Regions from separate parts of the Homo sapiens genome. Here all the other regions are linked to region 7. Evidence: promoter capture Hi-C in 16 types of primary human blood cells and fetal thymus (Javierre and others, 2016). All regions are on one chromosome and are shown on one strand. Each heading gives the region's core, a stretch centred on a gene start or on the middle of the fragment in contact. The rest is flanking DNA. Distances are from core to core; before and after follow the strand shown.

What was found. The method cuts DNA at HindIII sites, captures the fragments that hold promoters and counts their contacts. A CHiCAGO score of 5 or more calls a contact.
Region 1: a fragment that was not itself captured here is called in contact with the fragment with the promoter of CLEC4E in region 7 in 3 of 17 cell types (total B cells, naive B cells and endothelial precursors); the score reaches 7.8 in total B cells.
Region 2: a fragment that was not itself captured here is called in contact with the fragment with the promoter of CLEC4E in region 7 in 2 of 17 cell types (naive CD8 T cells and non-activated CD4 T cells); the score reaches 6.7 in naive CD8 T cells.
Region 3: a contact is called between a fragment that was not itself captured here and the fragment with the promoter of CLEC4E in region 7, in 7 of 17 cell types (total CD8 T cells, neutrophils, naive CD8 T cells and 4 more). The highest score is 11.8, in total CD8 T cells.
Region 4: a contact is called between a fragment that was not itself captured here and the fragment with the promoter of CLEC4E in region 7, in 1 of 17 cell types (endothelial precursors). The highest score is 5.1, in endothelial precursors.
Region 5: a contact is called between the fragment with the promoter of M6PR here and the fragment with the promoter of CLEC4E in region 7, in 5 of 17 cell types (monocytes, neutrophils, M1 macrophages and 2 more). The highest score is 9.6, in monocytes.
Region 6: a fragment that was not itself captured here is called in contact with the fragment with the promoter of CLEC4E in region 7 in 6 of 17 cell types (neutrophils, M1 macrophages, total CD8 T cells and 3 more); the score reaches 7.3 in neutrophils.

Annotation. Positions count from the first base shown.
Region 1 is chr12:9,032,554-9,035,253 of GRCh38, reverse strand. It overlaps a transcript of KLRG1 not described here. Among named protein-coding and RNA genes, the nearest start is that of LINC00612, 31 kb to the left of the region's middle. The HindIII fragment of the contact is 5,098 bases long and covers 1-2,700 here.
Region 2 is chr12:8,873,069-8,875,768 of GRCh38, reverse strand. A2ML1 (alpha-2-macroglobulin like 1) reads right to left here. Exons shown (of 36, transcript NM_144670.6): 34 at 1,242-1,344; 35 at 757-798. The coding sequence ends at 758. Among named protein-coding and RNA genes, the nearest start is that of PHC1, 40 kb to the left of the region's middle. The HindIII fragment of the contact is 9,645 bases long and covers 1-2,700 here.
Region 3 is chr12:8,890,931-8,893,630 of GRCh38, reverse strand. No RefSeq gene overlaps it. Among named protein-coding and RNA genes, the nearest start is that of PHC1, 22 kb to the left of the region's middle. The HindIII fragment of the contact is 4,563 bases long and covers 1-2,700 here.
Region 4 is chr12:8,968,780-8,971,479 of GRCh38, reverse strand. It overlaps a transcript of KLRG1 not described here. Among named protein-coding and RNA genes, the nearest start is that of KLRG1, 19 kb to the left of the region's middle. The HindIII fragment of the contact is 937 bases long and covers 980-1,916 here.
Region 5 is chr12:8,948,215-8,950,914 of GRCh38, reverse strand. M6PR (mannose-6-phosphate receptor, cation dependent) reads left to right here and starts at 1,270. Exons shown (of 7, transcript NM_002355.4): 1 at 1,270-1,427. It also overlaps a transcript of KLRG1 not described here. RefSeq lists enhancers at 568-697, 196-1,100, 1,101-2,006 and a silencer at 676-890. The HindIII fragment of the contact is 9,162 bases long and covers 794-2,700 here.
Region 6 is chr12:8,909,684-8,912,383 of GRCh38, reverse strand. No RefSeq gene overlaps it. Among named protein-coding and RNA genes, the nearest start is that of PHC1, 3.5 kb to the left of the region's middle. RefSeq lists an enhancer at 190-742. The HindIII fragment of the contact is 1,500 bases long and covers 520-2,019 here.
Region 7 is chr12:8,539,612-8,542,311 of GRCh38, reverse strand. It overlaps CLEC4E (C-type lectin domain family 4 member E), which reads left to right and starts at 1,407. Exons shown (of 6, transcript NM_014358.4): 1 at 1,407-1,551; 2 at 2,365-2,457. The coding sequence starts at 1,515. The HindIII fragment of the contact is 5,761 bases long and covers 1-2,700 here.

The DNA of each region.
Region 1 (2,700 bases), core at 16-2,515, 490 kb before region 7:
TCCATGGTGTATATGTGCCACATTTTCTTTATCCAGTCTATCATCGATGGACATTTGGGTTGGTTCCAAGGTAGTTCTGTCTTAAGTTCTTCGAGAAATCTCCAAACTACACTTTTTTGTATGAACGCACAGCTTACCACACAAATGTATTGTACAGCTATACAAAAATATTTTCTTTCTTTATATCCTTATTATATAAGTTTTTTTCTATTTAATTTTTTTTTTACTTTTTAAATAGCTTTGTTAAAAACTAAGACACAAAAACATACATTAGCCAAGGCCTACACAGGGTCAGGATCATCAATATCACTGTTCTACTTCCTTATCTTGTCCCACTGGGAGTTCTTCAGGGGCAGTAACACGCATGAAGCTGTCCTCTCCTGTGATAACAATGCCTTGTTCTGGAAAACCTCCTGAAGGGCCTGCCCAAGACCGTTTTACAATTAACAAATTTTTTAATGGATAAGTATAAAGAATGTACTCTAAAATAACAGTAAAAAGTATAATGGCCAGGCACGGTGCCTCACGCCTGTAATCCCAACACTTTGGGAGGCCGAGGCGGGCGGATCATCTGTGGTCAGGAGTTTGAGACCAGCCTGGCCAACATGATGAAACCCGTCTCTACTAAAAATACAAAAAATTAGCCGGGCATGGTGGCGCATGCCTGTAAATCCCAGCTACTCGGGAGGCTGTGGCGGAAGAATCGCTGGAACCGGGGAGGCGGAGGTTGCAGCGAGCCGAGATCACACCATTGCACTCCAGCCTGGGTGACAAGAGTGAAACTCCATCTCAAAAGAAAAAAAAAAAGTATGGTATATTAAGTACATAAATCAATAACAGAGGCACATATTATCATCAGGTATTATGTATCATACATAACCGTATGTGCTATGGTTTTTACATGACTGGCAGTGAAGTAGGTTCATTTACACCAGCATCACCACGAACACGTGAGTAATGAGTAATGTGTTGTGCTGTGATGTTATGACAGCTATGATGTCCCTAGAGATAGGATGTCACTAGGAATTTTTCAGCTTCGCTATAATCTTATGGATATAATTACGGCATATGTGTGATCTATTGTTAACCGAAACATCATTATGCTGTGCATGACTGTATGTATCTCTTCTACTGGTTCTGCTTCTGTGGTTGAAACCTGACTGATACAATACACAAATACCAATTGTCTCTCATGGGGTTCTTCAATGGATTTTTAGGAGATCCTACACAGAGATACATCCCTGAGGAATTTCTGCACTGCATCATTCCCTGATACAGGTGAGATGCTCTCTGGGAGGCCTCCTGTGACTTTACCTTAGCTCTCAACTTCTAGTGAAGCATCCAACATGGCTTCTTTCTTGTAGGATCTCCCACCGATAGGGAGTCCTCTTGGATAAAGCCCTTTGTAGAGGACGCAAACCCACATCTGCTACTTCTGGGATGAGGGGAGCTCATATACCCACTCACCAAATAGTGAAGCTGAGCCTTGAAGCCACCCCACCTTACCCTGTCATCAGGAGCAACTTCTGCTAACTTCTCACCACTGGGCCTCTCTAAACAATAGTCACACAAAAGTGTCTTTGTCCTCTTCAGTAAGGGACATAGGTCAGGTTCTTCCAAACACTTTTTTATTCTCCATGCTGTCTCAAATTTACAAGCTCCCATAGCTGAGCAAGCATAGAGCCAAGGAGTAAGACTCTGTCTGCCTTCAGCAAGCAGTGCCCAATTTCCCCAAAGTGCCCTCTTGTTTCCCCTCTCACTTGGAATCAGGGTGGGAGGGGAAATACCCCAGTAATCCCCTTTTTTTTTTTTAAAGAGTCTCATTCTGTCACCCTAGCTGGAGTGCAGTGGTATGATTGTAGCCCATTGTAGCCTCTATCACCCAGGCTCAAGTGATCCTCTCACCTCAGCCTCCCTAGTAGCTGGGACTACAGATATAAACCACCTTGCCCAGCTAATTCTTTTATTTTTTTATTTTTGTTAGAGATGATGACTTTCTACGTTCCCCAGGCCAGTCTTGAACTCCTAAGCTCAAGCGATCTTCCCTCCTTGGCCTCCCAAAGTGCTGTGGTTACAAATGTAAGCCACTACACCCAGACCCCAGCAATCTTTTGATTCACAAATTCTTTCAAGGAATTTGTCTCTGCAATCATGTAATCACCGGCAGTTTCTTCCTGCCCTCTGCACAGGCAAAATCAATTCACTGAGACTACGGCATAGCAGTAAAGAAAGAGTTTGATTGACAGGAGGCTAACTCATGTAGTAGAACCAGAAATATCACTCAAATCAGTCTCCCTGAAGGCTCAAAGTTTTGGGGGTTTTAAAGGATAGTTGGTGGTCAGAGGGCTAGAGAATGGGGAATATTGATTGATTGGGGTAAAATCATAGGAGTGTGGAAAATAGTCTTCATGCACTGAATTGGCCTCTGGGTAGGGCTACAGGACTGATTGACTCATGAGTTGCAGGTCTGGCCCGAGTCAGCTGGTCATGAGAAACGTTAACAGTCTGAAAAAAATCTCAAAAGGCCAATCTTGGGTTCTATAACAGTTGATGTCATCTACAGGAGTAATTGGGGAAGTTACAAATCTTGTGACCTCCAGAACAATGGCTGGTTATCGTTTCACTTTGCCTACATTTTAGCAGAATTCAGGCCCCTCTCATAATTCCTAATCCTAACCTGTGGCCTTTCATTAGTTTTAC
Region 2 (2,700 bases), core at 194-2,693, 330 kb before region 7:
TCTGTAAACTATTTTCAAGAGTTTAGGACAGGCCGGGCACAGTGGCTTACACCTGTAATCCCAGCACTTTGGGAGGCTGAAGTAGGCGGATCACCTGAGGCCAGGAGTTTGAGACCAGCCTGACCAACATGGCGAAACCCCATCTCTATTAAAAATACAAAAAAAATTAGCTGGGCGTGATGGCACGTGCCTGTCATCCCAGCTACTCAGGAGGCTGAGGCACAAGAATCGCTTGAACTTGGGAGGCAGAGGCTGCAGTGAGCTGAGATCACGCCACTGCACTGCAGCCTGGGCAACAGAGCCAGATCCTGTTTAAAAAAAAAAAAAAAGTTTAAGACAAAAAAGGAAAGCTCACTTTCTATCAACAATAGCTTCCAAAAGACAATAACAGGGCTGAGTGTGGTGGCTCATGCTTGTAATCTCAGCACTTTGGGAGGCCGAGGTGGGCAGATCACCTGAAGTCAGGAGTTCGAGACCAGCCTGGTCAACATGGTGAAACTCTGTCTCTACTAAAAATACAAAAATTAGCCAGGCATCATGGTGGGCGCCTATAATCCCAGCAACTCAGGAGGCTGAGGCAGGAGAATCGCTTGAAGCTGGGAAGTGAGCCACTCAACCTCCGCCACTGCCCTCCAGCCTGGGCAACACCGCGAGACTCTATCTCAAAAAAAGACAATGACAGTAACTCGAAAAGAGGCTCCTCTTAACTTCTGCCACCCTAACCCATAACTCCACCCATTTCTCCGCTGGACTTACCTCATTCACAGGGATCAGAATACTGAATTGTTGCCTGTTCATCTGTGAAATGAAATAAGTCATATTATTACTTTGAGGGCCTCCTATATTCAGAGGGAAAATGCTTCAGAAAAGCTACTGCTTGAGCCCCTTCCAGAGAATCTCTACAGGTTATGAGCATATTCAGAATTACAAGAAAGTTTCAATCACTAATATTTGTACATTGTGACAAACTATTAATCATACCAAAAATAATAGAAATAGCCCTTTGAGAACAATGGTTCACATTGTTCTCCGATCACATAAAATGTCTCTAGTGTACGCAACTTAAAAATGGCACACAACTGAATTAAAATATTTTAGGAGATTAGATAATTTAATTATGTGCTACTTGGCTTGGGAAGGAGTATTTGTAAAATTAAGAGAGAAGCCATGAAGAATGAGGCAGAAGTAAGTTGGGAGATGCAGGTAAGATCTCAGATCTCATTTCAGCTCAGCCCTCTCACCTGGTAGGTAGTAGTCATAGACCTTGATGGTTGCTGGTTTCAAGTTGGTGACCAGCACACTTTGGCTGATGGTGAAGGTGTAAGTCTGAGTGTTCTTAATGAGCTGTGGGGAAGACAGATGAAACAGTACCTTAGAAGTAAAATGAAAATTACACTGTATGCAATGTGGAATAAAAGACCCTTGCTGTCTTCATGTAGATTTTCTGAAGCCCCGCCAGGCACGGTGGCTCATGCCTCTAATCCCAGCACTTTGGGAGGCCGAAGTGGGTGAATCACCAGAGGTCAGGAGTTCCAGACCAGCCTGGCCAACATGGTGAAACCCCATCTCTACTAAAAATACAAAAATTAGTCGGGCATGGTGGCTGGCACCTGTAATCCCAGCTACTCAGGAGGCTGAGGCAGAAGAATCGCTTGAACCTGGGAGGCAGATGTTGCAGTGAGCCGAGATGGCGCCACTGCACTCCAGCCTGGGCGACAGAGCGAGACTCCATCTCAAATTAAAAAAAAATTTTTTTTTTAATTAAAAAAAGATTCTCTGAAACCCTCTATGTACCGCTACTGCCCTATGAGTCTTAAAGACATTGCCTCCTGCTGACTTCCTGGCTCTTTCTTCTTAGGATCTTACAGCTCTCTGGCCCTCTTGTGAACTGGTTCCCTTTGTTCATGGTCCACCCTGACCCATGGCTTCTCCACTAAATTAGTCAAAGTGGCCAGAGAAACAGAGGCTTGCATTTTACTCCAACAGTTCTATGCCCCTTACTGGTTTGCTTTCTTCAATCTGGTCCCTGAGCAAATGATACCTCCTCAAAGAGGCTTTCCTTGAACACCTTATTTAAAAAGAGTCACATCCCTGGCCTGCCCCACCAGCACTCTTTATCCCCTTATGCTGCATAGCACTTATTACTACTGAAAAAAAATGTGTGTGTATACACATATACATGTAATTTTTAAAAACCTGAATATTGTTGTCTCTCCACTAGAATATCAGCACTCTTAGGCCAGGTATCATATCTATTGTTTTCATTGCTACGTCTCCATCACTTAGAAAAGTGACTGGCATATGTTGGTTGTTCAGTAAATATTTGTTGAATAAATTAGCAAATGGAGAATCTAAGGCAATTGTATAAGTTACTTTAATATAAAAAAATAAATCCTAGCTACTTGGGAAGCTGAGGTGGAAGGATCATTTGAACCCAGGAGGTGGAGATTATAGTGAGCCAAGATCGGGCCACTGAAGTCCAGCCTGGGCAACAGAGTGAGACCCTGTCTCAAAAAAAAAAAAAAATCGTATTATAAATTTAGATATAGCGCTATTAACGCCTAATTGGAAGGGATTTCCAAAGTTCTTCAGGTATAGTGCTTCTCAAAGTGTGGTCGAGGGACCTCCCCTACTCCAGGGATCCCCGAGATTGCATCAGAATATCTGAGAGGTCAGAATTATTTTTAGAATGATATTAAG
Region 3 (2,700 bases), core at 157-2,656, 350 kb before region 7:
GCTCACGCTTGTAATCCCAGCACTTTGGGAGGCCGAGGCGGGCGGATCATGAGGTCAGGAGATCGAGACCACGGTGAAACCCCATCTCTACTAAAAATACAAAAAATTAGCCGGGCGTGGTGGCGGGTGACTGTAGTCCCAGCTACTTGGGAGGCTGAGGCAGGAGAATGGCGTGAACCCAGGAGGCGGAGCTTGCAGTGAGCCGATATTGCGCCCCTGCACCCCAGACTGGGGGACAGAGTGAGACTCCGTCTCAAAAAAAAAAAAAAAAAAAAAAATCTGGAAAGCAGACCACAAGATGTACAGAACAAATGGCGGAACACAGAAACCAGAAACACGGAGAAAAGTAATCTCGGTTCCAGAGAAGGCATAGGCTATCTCCCCTTACAAGAACAATCCTCCCACACCGCACCCCTCACCTGTCTCATTCCTGCTTATTCTTCATCTTGCAACTTGAGTGTCACTTCTGGGAATTCTTAATTCAGCCCAAAGATTAGGTTAGGTTCCCACAACCTGACTGTGCTTTGTCACATTCATCCCCCTAATGAAGGGCAGGCAGTGTTGCTCTCCCTCACTAAGCTGCAAGCCTGGGAAGGGCAGGGAGTGTGGTTGTCACATTCATCCTGTTCACTACTCAGTGGGTGCCCAACAGATTCGCACTTAATGAAGGCCCCTCTGCTGGCCTTCAGATTTCAGTGCTTATGGAATAATTATTTCTGTCCCCTGCCACTCAGCCCTGTACTCTGCTTTGTGATGGAAAAGAGGAAACCAGGAATAAGAAAATGTGCCCCACAGATTTTGCCAAAACCATAATCTGTTAGATAAATTGCTGAGAGGGAAAACACTAGAATACCTCAAACGGTAATTCCATTCAACACAAAATACGTAAATATACGTACTTTGGGAAAGTACATCACATATCACCACAGAGCAAACGCTGTTGGATCGCCATTATTTAAGGAATATCTCATACTCAGTTTCTGGATTTCTGCAACAACTGGTAAAGGGGAAAATATCACATTTCTTAAATTTATACATGTATAGGCTGGGCACGGTGGCTCACACCTGTAATCCCAGCACTTTGGGAGGCCGAGAGGGGAGGATCACTTGAGGTCAGGAGTGTGAGACCAGCCTGGCCAACATGGTGAAACCCTGTCTCTACTAAAAATACAAAAAAGTTGTCTGGGCTTGGTGGTGGGAGCCTATAATCCCAACTACTTGGGAGGCTGAGATAGAAGAATCACTTGAACCTGGGAGGCGGAGGTTGCACTGAGCCGAGATCGTGCCACTGCACTCCAGCCTGGGTGACAGAGCAAGACTCTGTCTCAAAAAAAAATAAAAAGATAAAAATAATAATAAAAGAAATTTATACATGTATAGTTGAATAAGCACAGAATATCTCTGAAAAGATATACCAGAAACTGAGAATTAGCCAAGCCCCACCCACACACTTTACTGCCTACATTAGCTTGACTTTGCTATTCTACTGTCTTTACCAACAAGACTTTAGTATTTCAGGAAGCCCTTGCCCCAAAAATAAAAGCTGTAATGGGAATGGGTAATGGGTACAAAAAAATAGAATGAATAAAATGTAGTATTTGATAGCACAACAGAGTGACTCTAATCAATAATAATTTAGTGTGCATTTTAAAATAACTAAAAGTACAATTGTATTATTATTTTTTCTTGAAACAGAGTCTCACTCTGTCACCCAGGCTGGAGTGCAGTGGCTCAGTCTTGGCTCACTGCAACCTCTGCCTCCCAGGTTCAAGCAATTCTCCTGCCTCAGCCTCCTGAGTAGCTGGAATTACAGGCGCCCGCCACCACGCCCGCCTACTTTTTGTATGTTCAGCAGAGATGGGGTTTTGCCATGTTGGCCAGGCTGGTCTCCAACTCCTGACCTCAAGTGATCTACCCACTTCAGCCTCCCAAAAGTCCTGGGATTACAGGCGTGAGCCACTGTACCTGGCCTAATTGTATTGTTTGTAACACAAAGGATAAATGCTTGAGGTCATAGATATCCCATTTACCCGGATGTGATTATTACACATCACACGCCTGTATCAAAACATCTCATGTATCCCATATACCTACTCTGCACTCACAAAATGAAATTTTTAAAAACTTTTTATTTCCATAGGTTATTGGGGCACAGGTGGTATTTGGTTACATGAGTAAGTTCTTTAGTGGTGATTTGTGAGATTTTGGTGCACCCATCACCCGAGCAGTATACACTGAACCCAATTTGTAGTTTTTTATTCCTCTCTCCCTTCCCACCCTTTCCGCCCAAGTCCCCAAAGTCCTTTGTATCATACTTATGCCTTTAATTTTTTTTAACTGAAAAAACTTTTTAAAATAAAACTTTTAAATAATGTTATTGTTCATTTCAGGAATATCCAGACAACGTATTTTAAATTGCTTAGCTTTCCAGTACAGTTATCAAATGATTATTCATGCTCCAAAACTTTTTTAAGCCCTCACCTTGCTAAATCATGATCCGTACCCAAACTTAATCAGAGCCCTTCACTGAAAGACCCACCTTAATCCAACCTAGAACCTCATAAATATCCTCCCTTTGCCCTCCCCTCCCAGATGCTGCTCAAGTTTCCGCAAGGCGGTGTGCTCCCTTGCTAAGACATGAATAAACTCCAGCTTTGCCTATCTGTGAGATTTCGGGTGGTGTATTTCAGGGCGCTGACA
Region 4 (2,700 bases), core at 199-2,698, 430 kb before region 7:
AAAATAACAAAGAGAAAAAACACAAATTACCAATATCAAGAATGGAGAGGCTATATTGCTAAAGATTTTAAAGACATTAAAAGTATAATAAGGTAATGTTATATCTTTATGTCAATAAATTTAACAAGTTAGATTAAGTAGACAAATTATTTATGGAAAAAAAACAGAATTTAACAAACTGACACAAAAAGAAATAAATTTTTGAATAGCTCTTTACCACTAAAAAAAAAAGAATTGGTTAATACACACTTACCCACAAAGAAAACTTCGTGCTCAGGTGACTTCAATAGCATACTATATTAAACTTTAAGAAATAAATAACAATGCTCCTTCAAAAAGTAGAAAATGTAAGTACACTCTCCCAATTTGGTTTAGGAGGCCATTATGACTCTGATACCAAACCTGACAAAAAATTGCAAGAAAAGAAAATTACAGACGCTCCGCCTTCAAGATTATAGACATGAAAATCTTTAACAAAATATCTATAAAAATATAAAATAAATCATCATGACAAAGTACAGTTTATCCCAGAAATGTACAATGTTGGTTTAACATTCTAAAAGCAATCAATGTACTTTGCCATATTAACATAATGAAAAAGAAAAAAGATATAGATCACGTGAACTGAAGCAGAAAGAAGCATGAAAAAAAATTCAACACCCATTCAGAATAAATAAGGTCTGCAAAAGAACAGAAGGAAACTTTCTCAATTTGATAATGGCTTCTACATAAAACCTACAACTAACCTAACACACTTAAGGTGAAATATTGAATGTTATCTCAGTAAGATTAAGAACAAGGCAAGGATGTCTTATTTCAGCAACTCTATGAAACACTGTACTGAAATCCTAGAGAAAAGTAAATAAATAAAAGATGAAAAGGAAGAAGTGGAATTTACCAGTGAAGCCGAAAAGTAAATAAATAAAAGATGAAAAGGAAGAAGTGGAATTTACCAGTGAAGCCATCTGGGCCCAAAGCTTTCATTGTGGGAAAACTTTAACCATAAATTCAATTTTTTCAGTGGATAGGGGAATATACAGGCTATCTGTTTCCTTGAGTGACTTTGGTAGTTAGTGTCTGTCAATTTATTTGTTCTTTTCATCTAAGTCAGGGATCAGCAAACGTTTTCTGTAAGAAGCCACACAGTAAATATTTCAGGCTTTTCTGGCAATGTGGTCTCCCACAACTACTCACTTCTGCCACTATAGTACAAAAGCAGCCATAGATACAATGTAAATAGTTGTGTGTGTGTTCCAATAAAACTTTACTCACAAAAGAAATGGCAAGCCAGATTAGGCACACAGGCCAGATTTTACTGACCACTTATTATCGTGGTTGTTTTGCTTTGTTTTGTTTTGTTTTTTGAGACAAGGTCTCCCTCTGTAGCCCAGACTGGTGGAGAATGGCACAATCACAGCTCACTGCAGCCTCAACCTCCCAGGCTTAGGCAATCCTCCCACCTCAGCCTCCAGAGTAGCTGAGACCACAGGCATGCACCACCATACCTGGCTAACTTTGGTATTTTTTGTAGAGATGGGGTTTCACCATGTTGCCCAGTCTGGTCTCAAACTCCTGGGCTCAAGCAATCCACCTGTCTTGGCCTCCCAAAGTGTTGAGATTACAGGCATGAGCCCCACCATGCCCAGCCCTTAGTATGCTTTTCATGGCTTAGAATCTATAGTGATTTTACCTCCCTGATTCCTGATATTGGAAATGTGTGCCTTTCCTCTAGTCATTTTGTCAACATTTTATCAATTTTATTGATCACTTTAAAAAACTAGATTTTGGCTTCATTTTCTCTGTTGTTTTTCTATTTTCTATTCCATTGATGTCTTGTGCCTCTTTATTAGATTCTTCCTTTTGCTTACTTTAAGTGTAATTTCCTCCTCTTCCTCTCATTCCTCAATGTGAAAGCTTAGATCATTGATTTGAGACTTTTTTTTTTAACTAAAATAAAAGAGCTCAACCAGAAGTTCCACACTTTCACCTGCTACGGTAGCCAGCCCACTGCCAAGGAGAAGCCTGCAACCTCAGAGCTGGAATGCCCTCAAATCCATGACACTGGGCTCTTCCCCCAGAACTCCCAAGAACGGCTGACTGCACTGAGCAACAGCCTGGGAGCCCACAGAGCCACCCAATGGCAACTTCCAGAAAGAGGTGTGAGTACCACGCTGTACTGGCCACTGCATGTAAACAACTCACCATTTTCACACTCCACTTTGGAACTAGCCAGGAGCCACTGCACCCTCCTCTTTCCCAAGGCCTGGGCAGGGAGGCACAGCAGACTCAGCCTGGCTGGAGGAGCCAGACACGGTTTTGCCTGGAAGCCCAGGGCCCTTACTTGTTTCTCAGAGGCCCCTCAACCACTGGAGCCACATCTTAGCCCCTACCTGTCCTACCCTGTCCAAGGCTGGAGATGGGAGAGGAGAGCTTTGTTGAGGATAAACTTCACTCTGTGGAAATAAAAAATAATAATGCTATAAATTTTAGCATAATGCTAAAATTTTAATGCTATGAATTTCCCTGTAAGCACTGCTTTAGCTGCATCCCTTGATGATGATAATGTTTTCATTTTTGTTCAATTCAAAATATTGGTAATTTAATTCATTATTTCTTCTTTGACCCATGGGTTATAGAAAAACTGTTAATTTTCAAATATTTGGGGATTTTCCAGGTATTGTTTTATTAATGATGTCTAGT
Region 5 (2,700 bases), core at 21-2,520, 410 kb before region 7:
TTATGGAGACTATTTAAATACTGGCTCCATAACTTAATAGCTTGGGACCCACGGTGTTACTTAGCTTCTATCTGCTTTAATTTACTCATCTGTAAACTTGGGATAAGATACTTCCTCATAAGGTTGGTGTGAAGACCAAGTGAATTAACTATCGTTTAAAGCACTTACAAAAGTGCCGGGCACCACCGAGATATGCATCCGTTAGCTTTTATTATTATTAGACTCAAAACACTGTAGTAGTTCTAATGAGAGGGGTAAGAATCAAAAATCCAGGCACCTGCATAGAGCCAGAGAGGCACACATAGAAGCAACGTAAGAGTGGAAGCGGAATGAAAACATGCTAAAGCCAGGTACAAGCCACAAGCGAGGGTCCACAGGAAGAAATTGTTAATTCTGAAGAGAGTGAATGCACGAAGTTACAGGAAAAATAACATCTGAACAGAGTTTAAGAATGAGCAGGACTTCAACAAGTGGCTAGTAAGACATAAGGAACCTACAAAAGATCTTAGCAAAGGCGCAAAGATTACCATCGTATTGCTCGTTTCTTCCTACTTTGCAGAAGTAACCTCTGGCGAACAGAGGTGGTTGCAGAGCATGCTTATCAAGCAAAATACCACGAAGCAGTAAGGAACGACAGAGATAACAGTAACAATAATAATTCACCCCAAGGTACTCAACTGGAAAAAGGAAATACAGAGGAGAGGTGTCGTTAAGAAAGCCAGGACGCACATCACGGCCCCGTCGCTGCACTACTCTCGTCTAGGGGTCAACAGTGGAGTCGAGACTCGAAGCTTCCACGCGGCGGAACAGCGTCCCTCTCAGGCGGCGAACGGGCTAGGGAAGCGCCCGGAGGAGACCTAGCGTGAGAACTACAACTCCCGCGGAGCCCGAGGGCGAGCTGCCTGCGTAACTTCCGCTTCCGCCACCTGCCCCTCTCACCCTCTTCACTCGAACCCTACCCGGGAGCGGTCAGGCGCGTGACCCCGCGTGACCGGGGTGCGCGAGCCGAGAGGCCCTGGAAGCGGGACTCTGGGACCCCATTGAAAGAAAGGCAACCAGAAAAGGCGAAACGACAACCTCGATAGTGATTGGAGCTGATGGAACGAGGGCGGAGCTAAAGTCCCAGAATACTGGCCAATCAGAGTTTAAGATTATCAGGGAGCCCGGGAAGGGGAAAGGGGCGAAATGGTTCTATGGTCACATGCCGCGGGGTCTGGTGGGAGGAGCGGTTGCCCAGCGGCCTCTTGGCGCTTCCTGTTTCCGGTTCCCAGAGTGGGGCACAGCGAGGCGCTAGGGGGAACGCTGGCCTCTGAAACTAGCTCTGGGACCGGGGTCTGCGGCCGGCCCCTAGCTGGCCCCGTCTCCCATCCCCAGAAGGGTATTCACTGGGGATTCTGAGCTTTGGCTACTCCAGTTTCCCACGACACGTGAGTGTGAGGGGCGTGGAGGAGGAGGCGGGCTGGGTTGCGCTCACACTTAAGCGTCTGTGACAGGAGCCGGAATCGCATTCTCCCTTGACCATGGTTCTAGCCAAAGATCTGGCTGAGGAGCCCTAAGGGTAGAATGGAGGCGGAGGCATGAGAGCGGAGAGTCACGGAGTTCCGAAAGGTGTGAGGGAGAAAGGACTTCCAAGACCAGAGAGGGGATTTACGATATTTAGAAAGCAGGGAAAGGAAAATACCCCAAGTATGGAGTCCGTTGGAGGTGTTGGTGGATTTATTTGTAGGAGGAATTTTGGCCTGCATCACGGTGGGAGGTCAAGTGGCATCATTTGGAGAGGGTATGGCTACAAGCGCTTGGAAAGTCGGGACACTAGACAGAGCGAGAATTTCTGGCACCCTGGGAGAGCTTTGAGGGGGATGCGACTGTGGTGTGGATAAGAATGGCTGATGGACGGATTATCTTGTGTTCCTCGTTGTGGGGAGCTTCCGCTCTTGGGACATAGCCGCTACTTGTCTGAGGCTCCTTCTCTCTTGAGTTCTTTCAGCATTAGGCCTTTTAGCCAATTGAGGCTGCTTTTCTAAACATGTAGGCTGCTGGAGAAAAAGGGATAAGGACTGCTACATCAGAAAGGAGCCAGCGGGAAGACAGTAGAAATTCCACTGGTAAATGGCCATGGCTGTCTTAACAGATGGGGAAGTGAGTGCTACAGAGGCCCAGTGGTGTAAGCTGCTTCCCAGTTGCTGGCTTAGTCATTGGCCACCCTAATAAAGGATAATTTTTAGCATTGCCAAATAAAATAGATCTGTCGTTAGAGAATAAGAAAACTGAAAGATTTTTCAAGATCATAAAATCCTGCTCCTTATTTCCAAAGTATATAGACAAACTCTTGTACCTTGAGAATCTAATTGTAGCATATTAAAAGGGGGCTACTGGGCCCTTCCATTTCATTCTCTTCCTGATTGTTGCACCCCTATGTTTATAAGTTTTCCAGCAGTTATCTTTATGCCACGAATCGTCTAAATTGCCCCAGTAACTTCACACACATTTAATATCTGTGTAATGTACAGCAAGTAATTTAACAAGTAATTCTGTAAAGCATCAGTTTTCTCATCTGTGAAGTATGAAAAATTATACCTATTTTCTGGGTTGTGAAGATGAATGAACATAATCTAGGGAAAACATTTAGCGCATATGCCACTGAATTAAAGAGAAGCAGCTTAAATTTAAAGACAAGCCTTAAGCAGGAAAGAAGAATAC
Region 6 (2,700 bases), core at 20-2,519, 370 kb before region 7:
GTTCCCACCAAAAAAGATTTAGTATAAAAAAGAAATATATCAACAGCAAAGTAAAGTTATAGGAAAGCCTCCATCCATAAGAAAATCATTTTCATAGACTAAATCAGCTTGAGAGCAGGCATTGAAGAACTTATCTCGGTCTAAACAGCAAAACAATCTGTGTTCCCTAGAGAATACTCAACTTTTTTTTCTTAATTTTTCTAAAGTTTCTCATTTTCATTTAATGACTCTGCTTGAATTAGACTTTTCTTTTTCAAACAAAATGGTTCTTCTGAATGGAGGCTACAGAATGTCTTTACTCTGCATAACACTGAAGGCCATTAGCCTAAACAGGTGAGAAGGAAAAGCATTTAATCCGGTGTATGGAAATGGAAGCCCTCCTGCAAACTTCTCTAAATAAGGAAGGATCCTGGTTTGAAAGGCTGTCGATGTTTGGCAGCAACTGAAGCAAATAGACTAGAAGTTAAGCTAATAGAACTTTTCATATCAACTGAACATTGCTTAAGCATTCCTCAAGCTTCTCCTGTAAACCTAGCATTCTGCAATAAATTGTGAAGGAAGAGATGTCCTTTACCCTAAAGGTGTTAGTATCTTTGGAATGTGTCTTTCTACAAGTAATCAAGTAAGAATGTGTGACCATGTTTTTATGCAAATATGGATAGGAAGAAGTAGAGAAAAAAGGAAATCATAACCTTTACTCTCCCCACCACCAACTGTGGCTGTGAACCACCATACACAGCCCACCTGTGTCTCACTATAATTCTGCATGCCACTTTAAGGTCTAGTTGGGAGAAAATGAAGATTGAGTGGATTTATAGGCTCTTAGATATTTAAAGGAAAAAAAAAGAACTTTAAAACTAAGCCCCTCAGTTTTCAGTGAAGACAATTGAAGTCTAAATGATAAATGTAGAAGAGGGATATTTCGTAATCCCTGGAAAATAGAAAATGTCCAATAAATATTAGTTAACTGAATTAATTTCCTAGATTCTTGCCCTTCTCTCATAGGAAAAGAATATGAAATTAAAAGATATAAAGGATACCTCTCATCTCTCGCTACTAATACCTACCATAGATCCTTTCTTCAAGCAGAAGTTTAAAATTAACATACTAATTGGTTCAGCCCAATATTCCATCCATCATTGCCCGCAAAAGATATAGAAGTACCCCTACATCCTTAAGGAGCATAAGACTGACGATAACATACTCTTCATCAGTATTGACAGTTATAATGATGGCAAGTTATGCACCTTTCCTTAACTTTGGTTTGCTTTCAGTAAAACAGGGGTAACACCTGGTAGTTGGTGGAAATAAGTGAGATGTTTGTAAAGCACTTCACATTGGGACCTGACACATAGCACAGGCTATTATTAATTTTCCTTAGTAACTAATATATTTTTGTGATCACCAAATAGAACTAAACCATTCTTTATGTTTTATTCAGTTTACATCACAACCTTATTAACTCACAATTTAGTTGAGTTTATGCATTAATTAGTTTAGTGAACTTACTATTATTTTATATAACAAAGAGTATTCCCTTCCTTGTATACTAAATTTACCTCTTTCGGGCTTCAGGTGTGTCGTCTTGTCTACTATTTCAGTATTTAGGGAGCAAAACCATGTTGGGACCAAGCACTAGATTTATACCCTCTGGGATTATGTGTCCTAGGCCCAGAGAACCAGGTACCTGGGAAAACATCTAAAGGGAAAAACAATTCAAAATATACTTAGAGCCTCTGCTCATGGCCTCACATGCATTATTGCATTCAACTCAATAACCTTTTCTGCTAGCTGTTTTTAATCCTTAATTTATAGATGAGGAAATTAAAGCTCTGGAAGATTAGGTAAATTGCTCAAGGTTCATAGGTGTAATAAGTAATGGAGTCAGAATTTAAATTCAGGTCTGTCCATCTTCAAAGCTCATAACTACATTATATCCTTCACAGTGTGAAAATAGAGTGATGCAAAAGATCTATTTAAAATGCTTAGCACACACATAAACATTTGCACAAAGAAGCTTGGCATTTGCCATGGTAAATACCTGCAATGGAAGGCCACTCTGCCTTTGTTAACTAGAGAAATAGCTCTAGTTATCAGTCTGTAAAGACACTGTGGAGATGTCTCAGCAGAAAATAGAGATATATATATTATTTCCCTAAATTGGCTGTTTTCTCTCTTGTCTACTGATAAACTGTGGTAAGCAGAACAATGCCCCCCCACCAAGGATGTCCCCATCTGTGAAATCTGTGAATACGTTATGCTCCATGGCAAAAAGAAATTAAAGTTGCAATTGGAATTAAGGTTGTTAATCAGTTGACCTTAAAATAGGGAGATTATCATGGATTACCTTGGCAACCCAGTGTAATCACAAGCGTCCTTAAAAGTGGACGAGGGAGGCAGGAAAGACAGGTTCAGTGATGTGACATGAGAAGTATTTAACCTGTCATTTCTGTCTTTGACACTGGAAGGGGGCCACAAGCCACGTAAGGTGGGAAGCCTTCAGAAGCCAGAAAAAGCAAGGAAATGGATCCTCCCCAGAGCTTCCAGAAAAGAACACAGACAGCCCTGCTGACACCTTGATTTTCACCCAGTGAGACGCATGTCAGACTTCTTTCTTTTTTTCTTATGTTATTTATTTATTTATTTTAATTTTTATTATGTTCTTTTTGAGACTCTTTTTGAGTCTCACTCTGTCACCCA
Region 7 (2,700 bases), core at 158-2,657:
GACAGAGTCTCACTCTATCGCCCAGGCTGGAGTGCAGTGGTGCAATTTTGGCTCACTGCAACCTCTGCCTCCCAGGATCAAGCTATTCTCCTGTCTCAGCCTCTCAAGTATCTGGAATTACAGATGCGTGCCACCACACTTGGCTAATTTTTGTATTTTTAGTAGAGGTGGGGTTTCACCATGTTGGCCAGGCTGGTCTCAAACTCCTGACCTCAAATGATCCACCCACCTTGGCCTCCCAAAGTGTTGGAATTACAGGCATGAGCCACTGCTCCCGGCCCAGAGAACCATTAAATTCTAATATCTAATTGAAATTGCTTTTTCTGACCTTCAAATACATTTCTCCTACTGTAGGCTGTAACATAGAACTAAAATCCCCAAATAATTGAGAACAGGAGAATTAAACTGCCTGCTGGGTCTCTGAGACTTCAGAAGCTGCGTTATGTTGTGAAAAACTAAGCTGAGTTTCAAAGTGGTCTAATCACATGAGGCTGTCCTGCTGAGGGGGACTCTAGTAGTCAGCCTAGTAGTAGCAGCCTAGTAGTCAGCATAAGATAAGAGGGACATAAATCCACAACATTAGAATATTCAAGAGCTGCAAATGAAGAAGAAAGAAAAACCATAAAAGATGAAAAAGAGGACGGGCGCGGTGGCTCACGCCTGTAATCTCAGGACTTTGGGAGGCTGAGGCGGGCGGATCACGAGGTCAGGAAATTGAAACCATCCTGACGACCACAGTGAAACCCCGTCTCTGCTAAAAATACAAAAAATTAGCCAGGCGTGGTGGCGAGCGCCTGTAGTCCCAGCTACTCGGGAGGCTGAGGCAGGAGAATGGCTTGAACCCGGGAGGCGGAGCTTGCAGTGAGCGGAGATCATGCCACTGCACTCCAGCCTGGACGACAGAGCGAGACTCTGTCTCAAAAAAAAAAAAAAAAAAAAAGATGAAAAAATTCAGGTTGCCATGTCCTAAATACATACACTATATGCCCAGCTTTGTGCTATGTTGTCTAAGTCTTCTTTTCAGTTACCAAATGTGTGGATGGTACAGATCCAAAGTGAAATTCAGAGTGCAGAGGTGAGCTCCATATTGTCAAGGAAAAACTGGGGGATGAGTTATGCCTTGAAGAAACTAGAGACATTTGGTCCAACGAAACGAAACAACATTTAAAAAAAAAACTCTCCTGTTTCCCCATGGCTAGCCTATTTGTGTTGATGCTTACCATTTCATAATTTCCTCATTTTGTTGTTACATGGAGTGAAGAGAACTGACATGCTGTCCAATAAACTTCCTTGTCCTCCTTATGCAAGAAAGGAAATCCTGACTTAATGCGTAGCCACAGAACAAGTTAATATTCTACATCTATCGGAGCTGAACTTCCTAAAAGACAAAGTGTTTATCTTTCAAGATTCATTCTCCCTGAATCTTACCAACAAAACACTCCTGAGGAGAAAGAAAGAGAGGGAGGGAGAGAAAAAGAGAGAGAGAGAAACAAAAAACCAAAGAGAGAGAAAAAATGAATTCATCTAAATCATCTGAAACACAATGCACAGGTAAAATCTGCAACTCTTCCTTTCCTTCCATAGATCTCTTTTTGGAACAAGTGATAAATATGGTGAAAGACAGGACAATAGAAAAGTATTCACTGAAGTTAAAAAAAAAAGTGGGGGGACAGAGGAAGAGAGAGAGAGAGATTTAAAGACTATTTCTTATACCAGAAAGCCTGCTGGCCTCTAGCTAAGGGAGAGCTATCAGTTTCCACCCTTTCTGCAATACATTGTGTCCCTTTTGGCAAGTCACTTCACTTCTCTGGAACTCTCTTTGTCTGTAAAATGTTTAATGGGAGGAAGAGAGGAACTATTAGATGACTGTTAACATTTTACCTAATTTACAAAGCGCTTGAAAAGTGAGACACAGAAAAAAAAAAAAGATCAGGAGAAGGACAAGAAAAGCAAAGACGAGAAAAGGGAAAAGAAAGAAAAAGAAAGAAGGGGGGCCTTAGAAAATACTGAAAAAAATTTAACTGAGAGACTTAGAAAGGAAAAATTGTATATCTGAGTTCATGAGTCAGAGTCTTACTCCAGGGGTGCTAAACGTGTGGTCCTCAGACCAGCAGCAGCAGTAGCCCCTGGGAACTTGTTGGTTCCATACAAACTCTACTGAGTTGCTAACTCTGGGGGTAAGGGTCAGCAATCTGTGTTTCCATAAACCCTCCAAGTGATTCTGAAGCATGCTGAAATTTGGGAATTACTCAGTACAAACAATGGAAGTAGAAGGAAATAAGTAAGGATGAATAAGAATCTCTTCTATCTCTTTTGTACCTTGCTTAGGGAAGATTGATCATGTTTGTGTCTTTCTTTCTACAGAGAGAGGATGCTTCTCTTCCCAAATGTTCTTATGGACTGTTGCTGGGATCCCCATCCTATTTCTCAGTGCCTGTTTCATCACCAGATGTGTTGGTGGGTTCTGAAGGTCAAATTCAATTTAATTCTTCCTGGTGCATATTAGGAGAAAACTCTTCCATGCTGCCTGTAGACTCTCTTTGCCCTCAAAGGGTCTTTCTATTTCACCCTTTTTTTTTTCCCTATTAATCTCTAGGTTATTTCTCAAACCAGAAACCTCAACAAGCAGGGAACTGTTTCTGAATTTTAATCACCTGTGACTTACTTTTCATGATAGACATTTTTCACTTCCTTGGCAGT